Regions from separate parts of the Homo sapiens genome. Here regions 1, 2, 4 and 5 are each linked to region 3. Evidence: promoter capture Hi-C in 16 types of primary human blood cells and fetal thymus (Javierre and others, 2016). All regions are on one chromosome and are shown on one strand. Each heading gives the region's core, a stretch centred on a gene start or on the middle of the fragment in contact. The rest is flanking DNA. Distances are from core to core; before and after follow the strand shown. Region 1 has its middle 600 kb from the start of KCNJ3. Region 2 overlaps LOC105373698 (a long non-coding RNA gene). Region 3 holds the start of GALNT13-AS1 (GALNT13 antisense RNA 1). Region 4 has its middle 620 kb from the start of KCNJ3. Region 5 has its middle 490 kb from the start of KCNJ3.

Region 1 (2,700 bases), core at 174-2,673, 840 kb before region 3:
ACAAAATGAAAGAAAACAAAAACTGCATTATTATTTTTTGTAGCTAGATTATTTTGGCAGTATCAATCAAAATGTAAATATTGCCTATTCTCTAAATTACCAATTTCACTTCTAAGAACATATACTATGAAAATATTTATGTATTTAGGCACAAATTTTGTAACATTTATGATTTGACATATAGCACACACAAATAATATTGTCCCAAAGTATTTCCATTACATTTGCAGTTTGGTTTTGTAAGAAGTCTTTCTCCCTTTCTCCTTTTTTCCTCTCCTTCTGTCTTACTTCTGTTGTTCTGCATTTGTTTTTTGATAAAGAAAAAACAAAAACTTTTAAAACATATGAGGAACCCTAGGTAAGTAACCCTAGGAAAGCTTACACGTAATATAATTTTAGACACTCTGATTTTATCTTTGGTATATGCTGCTGAAAATTTATACTAAGAGGAAATCATACTTGGAAGGCTTTATTTCCTAAGGCCTTGGTGACTCTGGGTGGGAAAACACATTTTCACATTACATGTAACTCTGGTGTGTGAAAAATGAAAACAATATATATATTTAACCCCAGAGCCTTGAAAAGCAGTTAGGAAATCCCTGAGAAAGCAAATGTGATTGTGGCTTCAACTTTGCTTGAAAGTAATTTTTCAACTGCAATCAACTTTTACCTTCCATAAGAAAGGGAACTGAAACTCAAATAAAAGTATTTCATCATGAATGTTAAATCAGGAAAGTTCTTAAAGATTATTTGATCTCAAATCTTTATTTTGTGAGTGATAAAACAGTAGTCTATTTGCTTAAGTCAGATAATAACTATCGGCTGGTTCTGTGCTCTTGACTGTGATCTCCACCCCTTGCTTATTTTACAAAGACCAAGGCAGTCACTGTAAATTTCCTTCCCTTATTTATGATGTTTTCTCTAATTTATAAAAAAATTCTACAAACTATCTTATTAAAAAATACAATTAGTGATTAAATATTTTGAAGGAGAATGACCTTTTAGTTTTAGAAATAATAAAAAATGAAAATTTTATTCCCGTTTGTTTCCTGGAAAATAGGAAATATTATGTTTATTGAAAAAAGAAGAAAATGTTTTGTCACATGCATTGGTTCGTGACTTACGTCACTATTTTCCATATCAGAGAAAAATTAGTATGCTTTTTTTTTTTAGCAATCTTTGATCTTGTAATCTAAGGTTTTATGCTGGATTATAGCAGAATTTCAACAGCAGCAGCACATTTAATTATGAACTTTATATTTTCTTTGTGGATTATCCATTAGATGGCAATATTATAATATATATTTGGAATTTTGAATCTACTTCTATGCAATGCTGAGAGAAATAGTGCTGCTTTTTTATTTTCATAGTTCTAAAATAAGATTTATGATGGATGCTACCTTATAGTTTAAGGATGACTGTGTGCAAGACAATGCTGCTGTGTGGGGCTAAACATGCTGTGCTTGAAAGCCATTTTATGACAAGTTTATACATCTTACACAAAACCTCAAGTACTTCTATCTTTTTAAACTACAGTTCAAACGGTGACTTCAACCTTTGTGATTTTTTATAAAATTTGGCCAACACTTAGTGAGATATACATGTGCTGTAGAAGTGGGAATTCTAGTTTATGACGTATTATTCCAATCAGTGGAGATAAAAAAGGATTTTCCTTATAATTTTTTTTAAATAATAAAATAAGCAAAATTTCAAAATAAAGTAGTGGTAAAGAATGTACTAGTGCTTAGCTATTGTGAATTGTGCAGCCTTTAGACAAATACTTAAGTCCTCTGGTCTCAGAAAGAGTACCACTCAAAATGAGGTCTGTGGACCAATGCCTTCATCACCTGCATCAGCAGCACCAGCAACACCTGGAAACTTAATAGAAGTGCAGATTCTCAAGGGATGCCCAGAACTGCTGAACTATATATTCTGTGGGTGAGACCTAGCAACCTGTAAGTTAACACACACTGTCCAGATGATTCTCATGCCCCTAAAGTTTGAGATGCTCTGCTTTAGATACCCCATTTGAAATGAGGGATTAGACTGTATTTCTGACTGAAGTCACTTTCAGCAGTTAAGTTAAATGGCTTATTAATTATAAGTGAATAAGGAAGGGAATAGTGACGATGAATGATGATGAATAACTGTAATAAAATTAATGTGATTTTATCATCTTCCCGATTGAGTTACATTTTAATGTGTCAGAGGCATAAAAAGATAAAACTATTCTTTCAACAAGAAGGTGTTCTAATATCAGAATGTATACATTTTAATTGTTAGGACTAATTCGATTACCTTCTGAAAGCACATGCTCTTCTTCCTTAATTAAATTTTTCTTATTTTGAGAGACAAGTTCTTCCTGTATTGCCCAGACTGGCCTCAAATTCCCGGGTATAAGCCTCAAATTTTCACCTCAGCCTCCTGAGTAGCTGGGACTATAGTCATGCACCAAGTGCACCAAGCTTAAAATTTGTTATTTTTTAGATTATTGTAGATTCACAGGCGGTTGTAAGAAAGGAAACAGAGATTCCGTGTACTTTTATCCCAGTTCCCCCAAGGGTAGTATCTCACAAAAGTACAATAAAATATCACAGCTAGGATATTGACATTGATATAGTAAAGATAGCTATACCCACTTCCTTCCTGTCCTTCCAATGTTCTAAGTGGATTGCTTACTTTTCTATTGTTGGTTTAAAA
Region 2 (2,700 bases), core at 44-2,543, 820 kb before region 3:
GAAATGAATAACATGCAAAGGAACTCCAACACATCTGGCAGCAGACTTCAGTAGAAACCTTACAGGCCAGGAGAGGGTGGCATGACATATTTAAAATGATGAAGGAAAAAAATATTTTACCGTAGAATAGCATATTCAATGAAAATATTCTTCAAAAAAGAAGGAAAAATAAAAAATTTCTCAGACAAACAAAAGCTGAGAGACTTCATCAACACCACATCAGACCTACTAGAAATGCTAAAAGGAGTTTTTCCATCTGAAACAACAGAATGTTAATAAGCAATAATAAATCATCTGAAGGTCCAAAACTTACAGGTAATAGTAGGTAAGCAAAAAATCACAGAATATTATCACAGAATATTATAACACTGTAATTGTGATGTGTAAACTACTCACATCCTGGGTAGAAAAACTGAAAGATGAACCAATTGAAAATAAAAACTACAACTTCTCAAGACATAAACAGTACAAGGAGATATAAATACAAAGGACAACATCTTAAAAAGTGAATAGACAAAGTGTAGAGTTGTTATTCATTTTCTCTTGTTTGTTTGTGTGTGCAGTTAGTGTAAAATCATCATCAGATTAAAATAATGAATATTATTTGCAAGTATCATGGTAATCTCAAATTAAAAAAATACAGAGGATACACAAAAAATAAAAAGCAAGAAACTAAATAACATAACCAGAGAAAATCACCTTCACTAAAAGGAAGACAGGAAGAAAGAAAAACAAAAAAGGAAGACAAGACCAGAAAACAATCAGAATACAAATAACAAAAATGGCAGGAGTAAGTCCTTACTTATCAATAATAATATTGACTGTAAATGGACTAAACTACCCATTCAAAAGACAGAGTAGCTGAATGGATTAAAAAAAAAAACCAAATAGGAACAAGACACACATACACTGATAATAAAGTGATGAAAAAGGTATTCCATGCCAATGGAAACCAAAAAAGAAAAAGTGTAGCTATATTTGTATCACTAATAGATTTCAAGACAAAAACTATGAAAAGAGACAGAGAAGGTCATTATATAATGATAAAGGGCTCAAGTGATCTAGAAGATATGAAAATTTTAAATACATATGCACACAATACTAGAGCACCCAGATATATAAAGAAAATATTACTAGAGCTAAATAGAGAGATAGACTTCAATAAAATAATAGCTGGAGGCTGTAACACCTCACTTACAGCAGTGGACAGATCTTTCAGACAAAAAAATCAACAAAGAGACTTCAGGCTTATTCTGCAGTCTAGACTAAGTGAACATAATAGATATTTACAAAACATTTTATCCAACAGATGCAGAATATGCATGATGTTTTCTCAGCCCATGAATCATTTCTCAAGGATAGACCATATATTAGGTCACAAAACAAGTCTTAAAACATTCAAAGAAGTTGAAATAATATTAAGCATGTTCTCTGACCATGATAGAATAAAACTATAAATCAATGACAAGAGGAATTTTGGAAAGTATACAAATACATGGAAATTAAGCAATAAGCTCCTGAATGACTAACAGGTGAATGAATCAATTAAGAAAAAAATTTAAAAATGTATTGAAACAAATAAAAATGGAAACACAGCATACCAAAACTTATAGGATACAGCAAAAGCAATAGTAAGATGGAAATTTGTAGCTATATGTGCTTACATAAGAAAAGTAGAAAAACTTCAAATAAACAACCTAATGATGCATCTTAAATAGCTAGAAAAGCAAGAGCAAACCAAGTTCAAAATTAGTAGAAGAAAGGAAATAATTAAAATATAGCAGAAATAAATGAAATTGAAAAAAAGAAAACAATGCAAAAGATCAGTATAACCCAAAGCAGCTTTTTTGAAAAGATAAACAAAATTGGCAAACCTTTATCCAAACTAAGAAAAAAAAACAGGCTGGGCGTGGTGGCTCATGCCTGTAACCCCAGCACTTTGGGAAGCTGAGGCAGGCAGATCACCTGAGGTTGGGAGTTCGAGACCAGCCTGACCAACATGGAGAAACCCCGTCTCTACTAAAAATACAAAATTAGTTGGGCGTGGTGGCACATGCCTGTAATCCCAGCTACTCAGGAGGCTGAGGCAGGAGAATCGCTTGAACCCAGGAGGCGGAGGTTGCAGTGAGCTGAGATCGCGCCATTGCACTCCAGCCTTGGCAACAAGAGTGAAATTCCGTCTCAAACAAACAAACAAAACAGAGAAGCCTCAAATAGAGATGAGAAAGAACACATTACATCCAATACCACAGAAATTTAATAGATCATTAGAGGCTACTTTGAGCAACTATATGCCAATAAATTGGAATACCATGGAATGGACAAATTCCTAGATACATACAAGCTACCAAGATTGAAACATGAAGAAATACGGACCTGCACAGAGCAATAAGGAATAACAATTGACACCATATAAAAAATCGCCTAGCAAAGAGAAGCCCATGAAACAAAGGCTTCACTGCTGAATTTTACCAAACATTTAAGAAATAACTAATATCAATCATACTTAAACTATTAAAAAAATAGAGAAACAGAGAATACTTCCAAACTCATTCTACAAGGCCAGTATTTCTCTGATACCAAAATCAGACAGTCTTTAAAAAAGTAGGCCAAATATACCTGATGAACATTGATGCAAACATTTTCTACAAAATATGAGCAAACAAAATTTAACTATACATTAAAAAGATCTTTCATCAT
Region 3 (2,700 bases), core at 8-2,507:
CTGGTTCTCTTTTAAACAATTTTTTTATATAAATTTAAGGCTCTCTCTGAGAACAGACTATGGAGGAGGCAAGGGTGGAAGCAACTTGGAAACCAGTCAGGAGACTCCGGCTATCATTTAGTTGGTGGTACAGACCAGAATGGGAGTAGTTGAGGTGTTAAGAAGTGGTCAGATTCAGCAAACACTGTGAAGGTGGAATTAAGGAGATTTTCTAATGGAGAGAGAGATTTCAAGGATACCAAGATTTTAGGCCTGAGCAGCTGGCAAAATGGAGTTGCCATCAACTGAGATGGAAATCTCTGGGTTGAACAGATTTGTAGGAGAAGGCAAAAAGTTAAGTTTTGGACAAACCAAGTTTCAGGTGTCTATTAGTTATCCAAGTGTAGATGTCAAGTAGGCAGTTTTTGAACTGGATAGAGATATTTGGGAGTCATCAGCATCGGAGACATTGAAATATGTGCTTCTGGATGAGATCACCAAAGAGTCAATGCAAATTGAGAAGGCCAAGGACTGCACCTCGAGGCACTCCAATATTAAGACATGGGAGAAAGAAGGGAAAGCTTAGCAAAGGAAACTGGAAATCAATGGCCAATGAGGTGGAAGGAAAACCAAAAAATGAAGAAAGAATATCCAAAGGAGGAGTTGGTGAGCTGCTGAGGCAAATGATTCTAAATCCACTAATGGAAACTAGAGTTTTAAAAAGCTAACTATGTGGGAAAAAATGGATTCTCCACCCCTTTGGTCCATATAAATAAAGGAAGAAATTTGAAGTGCTTTTATATATGCAACTTAACTTCATGTCGTTGTTTAAAAGCCAAAACGTTTCACAGGTACATAGGGAAAGCAAGCTGCAGGCTCAGGGCTGAGAACACAGGTCCCATTAGTCTTAAGGAAGGGTGTTTTAAATTCTGACCTCAATTGTTTAGACAATGTTGATTTCACAGCCTCCACCTTATATATATTATCATGTAGGAGATAGAGTGCTTGCTGCAGTAAGTTCAGGTGTTTTGTGTTGCAGAGAAAACTGTAAAATCTGTTTTAGATGTTTGCATGTTTACCTAGTTTTTCACTTCAAAAAATTGGTGAAGAGACTTCTGTCAAAAGAATTTCAGTGGGCTACCTACCACCTCTTTCCCACAGTGGAAGCAGAGATTGGTGATTAATATCCTCTGTCCTGCGGGGGAAAAAATTCATGATGTCAGAAAATGAGTGAGTCAACAGAAAGCCTACCTAAGAGTCTCCTTGGCTGAGGAGGAAGACGAAAGCACAGTTCTGAGCATGAGAGCTCACATTCTGTTTCTACCAGGTGCTGAAGAAAAGCAAGACAGGGTAAGTTATGGATCTATCAAAGCCTGAAGTGGGTGGGGTTGCTTTATTAGGTTATACTTGAGTACCTGGTTACTGCTGGAAATGTATGCTGTGCGTGGACAAGAGTAACCGAAAAGAGAGTAACAGAGTTGGGTATCTGGAGTCACACTTGGTTTACAGAAAGCCAAGAAGGGACAAAATCTAGAAATGTCCTTTACACTTGCTGACAGTTATAAGTTGCGGAAAACTAGCGAGGTGTTCATGTTTGCAAATCAATGGACTTCTGAACAGGAACTTTCAGATGAGTCTCTTCAGAATAAAATTATGAAAACAGATTATTAGCATCGTCTTTCTCTCTTCCCTTCCCTCCCCTCCCCTTCCCTTTCCTTTCCTTTCCTTCTTCTTTATTCTTGCTTCCCTCTTCCTCCCCTTCCTTCCTTTCTCCACCTTAGAAAATTAAATGCTCTTTTTGATTATCTTAGTGGTTAAGACTGAAGAGTTGATCCTGCGCTGTGCTGTGGAGTGGGCAGCTTCTCTCCATCTTCTCTCACCCTGACACACTGTCTTAGGATTCCAGTCTCAGAAGCCAGGTATTGGGTATGGTCTATATTCTGAAAAATAATTTTTATCATTGATGTGAGACTTTTAAATTTTTCTATTTTTAGTCATTTTTATAAAACAGAAAGAAAAAAAATCCACCTCAAATCATTTCAGAATCAAAAATAAATAAAAATAAATGCTTTAAAATCATGCATATTTTAGTGTTTCTATTTTATATATTTTGATAACAAAATTGTACTGGGAACACAACATTTTCTTGGTGCAAGGAGATATTCATAGGCACTTAATCATTTATTTAAATAATCCACAAACATGGAGGTTAAGCATAAAATAGTGACGTTGTTTATCTATTTGAAATGTTAACCATTTATTTTCCAAAAAGGCAATATATACCAAAGGAAAACTAAATTGGCATATTTTAACTCTACAAAAATGTATGAATATTTAAATTTACAGCAAAAGAACAATTATATCATCTAATAATGCTTACAGTATTTAAAATCTGTCATTATGCACAATCTACTTTTATAAATGTTAAAGAACCATGTGCCAAGCATATATCTAAAACATTTTTGAAATTACTCCTTTCTAGCTGTGGCTACACTGACCAAAACAACAACAACAACAACAACAAAACAAAACAAAACAAAAAAAGCTGAAATACAAAAAAAAAAAAACAAAAAAAGACATGTAATCATCAAGTTCTTTTTTCCCCCTTGTGCTATTTTTAGCAGAAATTTCAGCACAACTGGAACCAAGCAGCAGCTTACTTTCGTTTTCACACCAATGGAATGCATGATGAAAATCTCATTTTTAAAAAACATTATAGAT
Region 4 (2,700 bases), core at 15-2,514, 860 kb before region 3:
TATTTGATACACTTTTTTATTTTATTCATTTTTAAACCAAATTTTACATTATAATGTTGTTTGGAGGGAAAAAAAGAAGAAAGAGAAGTTCCTCCAGATATTTCAGAGATACAGAAATTTTTGGTATAGTCAAAATTGGAGAAGTCGTTTGGAATTTAAAGAAACCTTCATTCCATGTTACTTATTTTTTCACTTAGAAGATGTCTGCTCCAAGTCTACTATCCTACAATTATTGAGCAACAGATTAAGGATATAACAATAAGAGAGATTCATAAATTTGAGAGTAATGCTTCATTTGTCCAAAAGTCTTTTGCAGGATACATTGGTTAAAGCATGAGAAACTTTGCAAAAGTTTTACTACATAGAATCTATGAAAAAATGATTGGAAGGCAGGATGAGTCCATAAAATCCCTGTTGGAAAGGATTATTTCACTGGAGGAAATTATTTAATAGTTTATAGAAGTTTGGCACTCCAGGGACCTTGGAGGTCATGGAGCCCTTGACAGACATCTAGGAAGTGACAAATATAAGCAGCTGTGTAGAGAGACTCTGTCTCAAGAGGGATTAGATTTATAGCAACTAAAAGAGACTCAGAACTACAAGATTTCAGAGAAAGAAACCTGGAAGAAATTAAGTTCCCTCTGACAGATAAAGCAACAGAGAAAGGATTTTATTTGCACAGGATTTTAGAACACTGGAAATAGTTTGGCACTAGCTGAGTCCACATCAATTTCCTGTCCGATAAGACAGAGATCATTTGACATTAACTCCATCAATATCTTTTCTATCACAAAATCTGCCTGTGGCGTCTTCCTTTGTTCTTGTTTTATCGAAAATAATATTTCTGTTCTAACTTCTCTCCACTCGTGTTGTTGCCTTTTTTCTTCCTGTCTTTGCAAAGATGGAGATTTAGGAATCGTTTCTATCTTTCCTTGCAAGCTCCAAATCACTTTTCAACACTCTGCTAAACATCTTCACCTGTAAGTTTCACTAGTAGCTCAAATTGGGATGTTTGAAATAAAGCTCATCATCTTCCTCACAACCTCAAATCGATTTTTCACTAGACGCTTCTCTTTCTGAGAACATAGCATTACTTGAACAGCCACTTTCCCAAAGAAGGAATCCAAATAGCTAATAATCATATAAACAGTGCTAATACATGTTATTAATAATTAATGAAATGTGACAACATCCTAATATTGACATGTTAAGATAGCTCAAATTAAATATCAGCAAGGTCTAATTGAACAAAAATTAATGACAACTCTCATATGAGCTGGTAGGAGTATAAATTGATATGGGTTTGAAAAATAGTTTGATATTATAAGGTAGTTACTCTTGGCACCATTCACAACTTTTGACCCAGAAATTACACTCCCATGCTTATACCCAACAGGAACTCGTGATAATATGCTTGACAAAAATTATTACAAGAAGGTTTATTGCAGCATAAGTCATAGCTCCAAAGAAGAGTGGATAAATATATTGTGGTATATTCATGCAAAATAATACTATCCATCAGTGGAAGCAAATAAACTGCATAGCACAGATGAGTCTCACATAGCATAGGTGGCATAGCACAGACGAGTCTTTATGCCATAGCATAGATGAGTCTCACAAACATGATATTAAGTAATGGAAATCAGATGCAAAAGATTAGGTACTGTGTATTTCCATTTATATGTAAAGTTGTAAGTACTTAAAACCTAAAAGTTAGTAGAAATTCAATGAATTTTAATTATATAGCTGAATAAATGAATGCTCTCCCCTAAGCCTATAATATTCGTTTGCTTTGTCTAGTCTTCCCTTACACATACTTCAAGCCCCAAATCATAGCTTAAAGACAAGACTTTTTTCATCTTTATGCTCTTAGACCTTATAATTTCTGTCACAGAATTTATCACCATGTTATAAGTATCTTTTTACAAGATCATTTGGTTAATTTATCTTTGTATTTTTCATCTTGTCCTCTCCCACCCACTATTTTCTAACATGTAGACTGTGACATGGACCTGTGTAACAATGCGATTGGTTGTTGAAATAATAAATGTTATTTAGCCTGAGTATTTGATGTCCTCAATAATATAGCTTTCAAATGCTATCTACTATTACATTTATATTTCCATTAATTCAAGTGCTTTTTTATGTGAAAATATAGAACAATGTATTTTCATTTAATTATTTTATTGATGCTTTTTTCTCTTTCTCTCTACTAATACCTTTCAAACTTATCTTAATTAATTAGTTAAGAGATCCCTTGATCTCTTAAATAAAATATGATTTCTCCCTACCTGATAAAATGCTTGTCACACTTTCTATTTGATTTATATAAAAGTAATGTTAATTGCAGCAGTATTCACAATTGCAAAGACATGAATTTACCTAGGTAACAAACCTGCACTTGTACCTCTGAACTTAAAATAAAAGTAAAAAAAAAAGGAATTGTATATCTTTCTTATACTTCATGTTGGACTCTAAACTGCTTAAGGCTTGGGACAATTTATTAATGATTCCTTTATCCCTTTATTGCCTAACTCTGCATGTTTCACATGGCAGGAATTTAGTAGAACTAAACTGAATTTCGCTGAATTAAATTAGCTAAGTATGCCCTGTACTGAAATATTGTTACATAGTACAAATTAAAATGTGAGGTAAGAAGATGTTAAGATCTAAGAAGCAATATCAAGCAGTAAAATCTGG
Region 5 (2,700 bases), core at 62-2,561, 730 kb before region 3:
AGTATCCAACTACTTAATAATCAAAAATATCATGACACATCTAAAAATAAATATTTGGATTTTACTTAAATTGCCTGGAGCATAAATCTTATTTTTATATTATTTTTCTAAAGCATTGGATATGCTTTTCTGCACCAGACACATTCATGAAAGCACGCCAGAGACTGTAAAAATACCCTTTCCATTTTATTTTTCAAGAAATTGCCACGTAGTTCTAAATGTATAGCTTCAGGTAGAATAGTAGTATTTCTTTTATTTGCGGTTTAAACAACTATTTAGTTTTTGAAAAATCTGGTGCCAAGACACAAGATTTGTGTATTTTTAAAAATAATCTATTTCAAGTCTGTGTTTAAAAATTATATTTTCCAAGTATTGCATTATTGGAGTACTTAAGAGTAATTTAGAGAAAAAAGATTTCTCATTTGATATAATTTTTCTTGGTTTCACTGTGTGAAAAGAGGCAGATATTTCATGAAAGCAGGAACTTTGCCCATTAACTCAAGAAATGTGTATCTCAATGATACCTCTGTGGTCTTTTCTAGAGATATAGTCCAAAATTTCCTCATATTTTTAGATTATGCAATTAATAAAAACAACCTCTTTAATTACAGTTTTCTACACATGATCATATAGGATATGCTTTTTTTTATAATTTATGTATCATAGTTTCTAGTTTTTACAAAAGTTGTTATGGGAAGTTTTAATAAGTTGGTGTTCTCTTGATTCATATGAAAGTTGATTGCCTTTTTTGTTCCCTCTATTCAGTGTATGGTGTGTATTTTTCTTATTTGCCGTGGGTACCATATTCCATTTTTCAAATTGAGTGATAGTTTTCTGAAAATTGGTTTTATGTTTTGGTAAACAGTACTTATTGTTGTTTCAAACTGAAGTTTACTAAGAGATCTATCATATTGAGTTTCCTATTGATAATTTAAAATGTTGGCCACTCATGTCAGATTTTATGTCATTTTTGTTGAACCTCTACTTCAACTTATATTTTTTCTGTATTTTTTTATGTGAGGGTGATCATTCTTGCTTTTTATTTGATGTGAAATAGCCTTGTTATTTTATTTTGAAAATTCAGAGAAGCTTAATTTGATATCAAATAAAGTTTGTATTTTACGCAGGAAAAAGCATTCTCTAGTGTACGATTTAAATATATTTGTCCTCATATACACAAAGTTATTAATTAATTTACAATCTATATGCTTGATGTTTAAAATTATAATATTTTTGTATTTTTAAAAAGATGAACTTTATAGTCTACTGTTCTTTCTTGATTGCTAATTTTGGGTGTGATTTCATAAATAGAAATCAGCAGTATAGAATGTTTAATATATTTTCACTCCTTAAAAAGTTAGAACACAGTTTTCAGCTTACAGCGAGGGAAAGGAAGTGATGGAGGACTGTGTTTGCCACAAGAAAAATCTAAATTCAATGAATCACCTTATCATTACATAACAGGCAATTTCTATTATGTTTCCCTTTTCTAGGTTCTGTTGTTATTCGAATCCATAGTTCTTTGAAGCTTTCTGTGAATTTTGCATAACCAAATAAGAATGCATTTTTACTCTGAGTAGAGCTTACAACCTCTAAGCATTACATTCTAATTCTTGAAATCACTTGGATGGAAAGAAGTGAGAAGGTATTCTTCAAGTGGGATGGTTTAGCTAAATTGTCCATTTATTAGGAATAAATGAGAAAAATACATATTTACATAAAGAATCTACTTTATTAGCAATTTTTAAATATGTGACATATTGTTATTAACTGTAGTCACCATGATGTGTAACAGATATCTTAAGCTTATTCCTCCTCTCTAATTGAAATTTTGTTTTGATTGACAAATATCTCCCCAGTCTCCTACCCTCCAGCCTTTGGTAACCACCATTTTACTATCTATGAGTTAGATGCCACATGCAAGTGAGATCATGCTGTATTTGTCTTTCTGTGCCTGGTTTATTTCGCTTACCGTACTGTCTTCCAGGTTCGTCCATGTTGTATGTTAAATGACAGGATTTCTTTTTCTTAGGCTAAATAGTACTCCATTCTGTATATATACCACATTTTTTTTAATCTGTTCATCCATTGATGGACACTTAGTTTGTTTTCATACCTTGACTATCATAAATCATACTGCAATGAACATGGGAGTGCAGCCATCTGTTTAACTTAATATCCTTTCCTTTGGATATATAGCCAGTAGTGGGATTGTTGAATCATGTAATAGTTCTATTTTATAATTTTTTTTTGAGAACCCTCTGTACTGTTTTCCACAGTGGCTGTACTAATTTACATTTCCCCACCAGCAATGTACAAGGGTTCCCTTATCGTCGCATCCTCACCAACACTTAATTATTGTCTTTTTAATAGTAGCCACTCAAACAGGTGTCAGAGGATATCTCATTGTGGTATTACTTTGGATTTCCCTAATGATTAGTGATATTGCACTTTTTTTCACGTACTTCTTGGACTTTTGTATGTCTCCTTTTGAAAAATGTCTATTCAGGTTCTCTGCCTTTTTTTTTTCTTTTTTGACAGAGTCTCACACCGTCACCCAGACTGGAGTGCAGTGGTGTGGTCTTGGTTCACTGCAACCTCCAATCCCAGGTTCAAGTGATTCTCCTGCCTCAGCCTCTCGAGTAGCTGGGACTACAGACATGCATTGACATGCCCAGCTAATTTTTATATTTTTAGTAA

The links. Contacts are between HindIII fragments. The CHiCAGO score rates a contact against its expected background, and 5 or more counts as called.
Region 1: a contact is called between a fragment that was not itself captured here and the fragment with the promoter of GALNT13-AS1 in region 3, in 5 of 17 cell types (M2 macrophages, M1 macrophages, M0 macrophages and 2 more). The highest score is 17.6, in M2 macrophages.
Region 2: a contact is called between a fragment that was not itself captured here and the fragment with the promoter of GALNT13-AS1 in region 3, in 1 of 17 cell types (M2 macrophages). The highest score is 5.3, in M2 macrophages.
Region 4: a contact is called between a fragment that was not itself captured here and the fragment with the promoter of GALNT13-AS1 in region 3, in 5 of 17 cell types (M2 macrophages, M0 macrophages, M1 macrophages and 2 more). The highest score is 25.1, in M2 macrophages.
Region 5: a contact is called between a fragment that was not itself captured here and the fragment with the promoter of GALNT13-AS1 in region 3, in 4 of 17 cell types (M1 macrophages, M2 macrophages, M0 macrophages and 1 more). The highest score is 7.5, in M1 macrophages.

The regions. Positions count from the first base shown.
Region 1 is chr2:155,296,170-155,298,869 of GRCh38, reverse strand. No RefSeq gene overlaps it. Among named protein-coding and RNA genes, the nearest start is that of KCNJ3, 600 kb to the right of the region's middle. The HindIII fragment of the contact is 2,088 bases long and covers 380-2,467 here.
Region 2 is chr2:155,276,890-155,279,589 of GRCh38, reverse strand. The region is part of intron 1 of LOC105373698 (a long non-coding RNA gene); the gene reads right to left. Among named protein-coding and RNA genes, the nearest start is that of KCNJ3, 580 kb to the right of the region's middle. The HindIII fragment of the contact is 5,541 bases long and covers 1-2,700 here.
Region 3 is chr2:154,455,995-154,458,694 of GRCh38, reverse strand. GALNT13-AS1 (GALNT13 antisense RNA 1) reads left to right here and starts at 1,257. Exons shown (of 5, transcript NR_161181.1): 1 at 1,257-1,329; 2 at 1,791-1,898. It also overlaps a transcript of GALNT13 not described here. The HindIII fragment of the contact is 5,662 bases long and covers 563-2,700 here.
Region 4 is chr2:155,317,369-155,320,068 of GRCh38, reverse strand. No RefSeq gene overlaps it. Among named protein-coding and RNA genes, the nearest start is that of KCNJ3, 620 kb to the right of the region's middle. The HindIII fragment of the contact is 7,488 bases long and covers 1-2,700 here.
Region 5 is chr2:155,187,508-155,190,207 of GRCh38, reverse strand. No RefSeq gene overlaps it. Among named protein-coding and RNA genes, the nearest start is that of KCNJ3, 490 kb to the right of the region's middle. The HindIII fragment of the contact is 439 bases long and covers 1,092-1,530 here.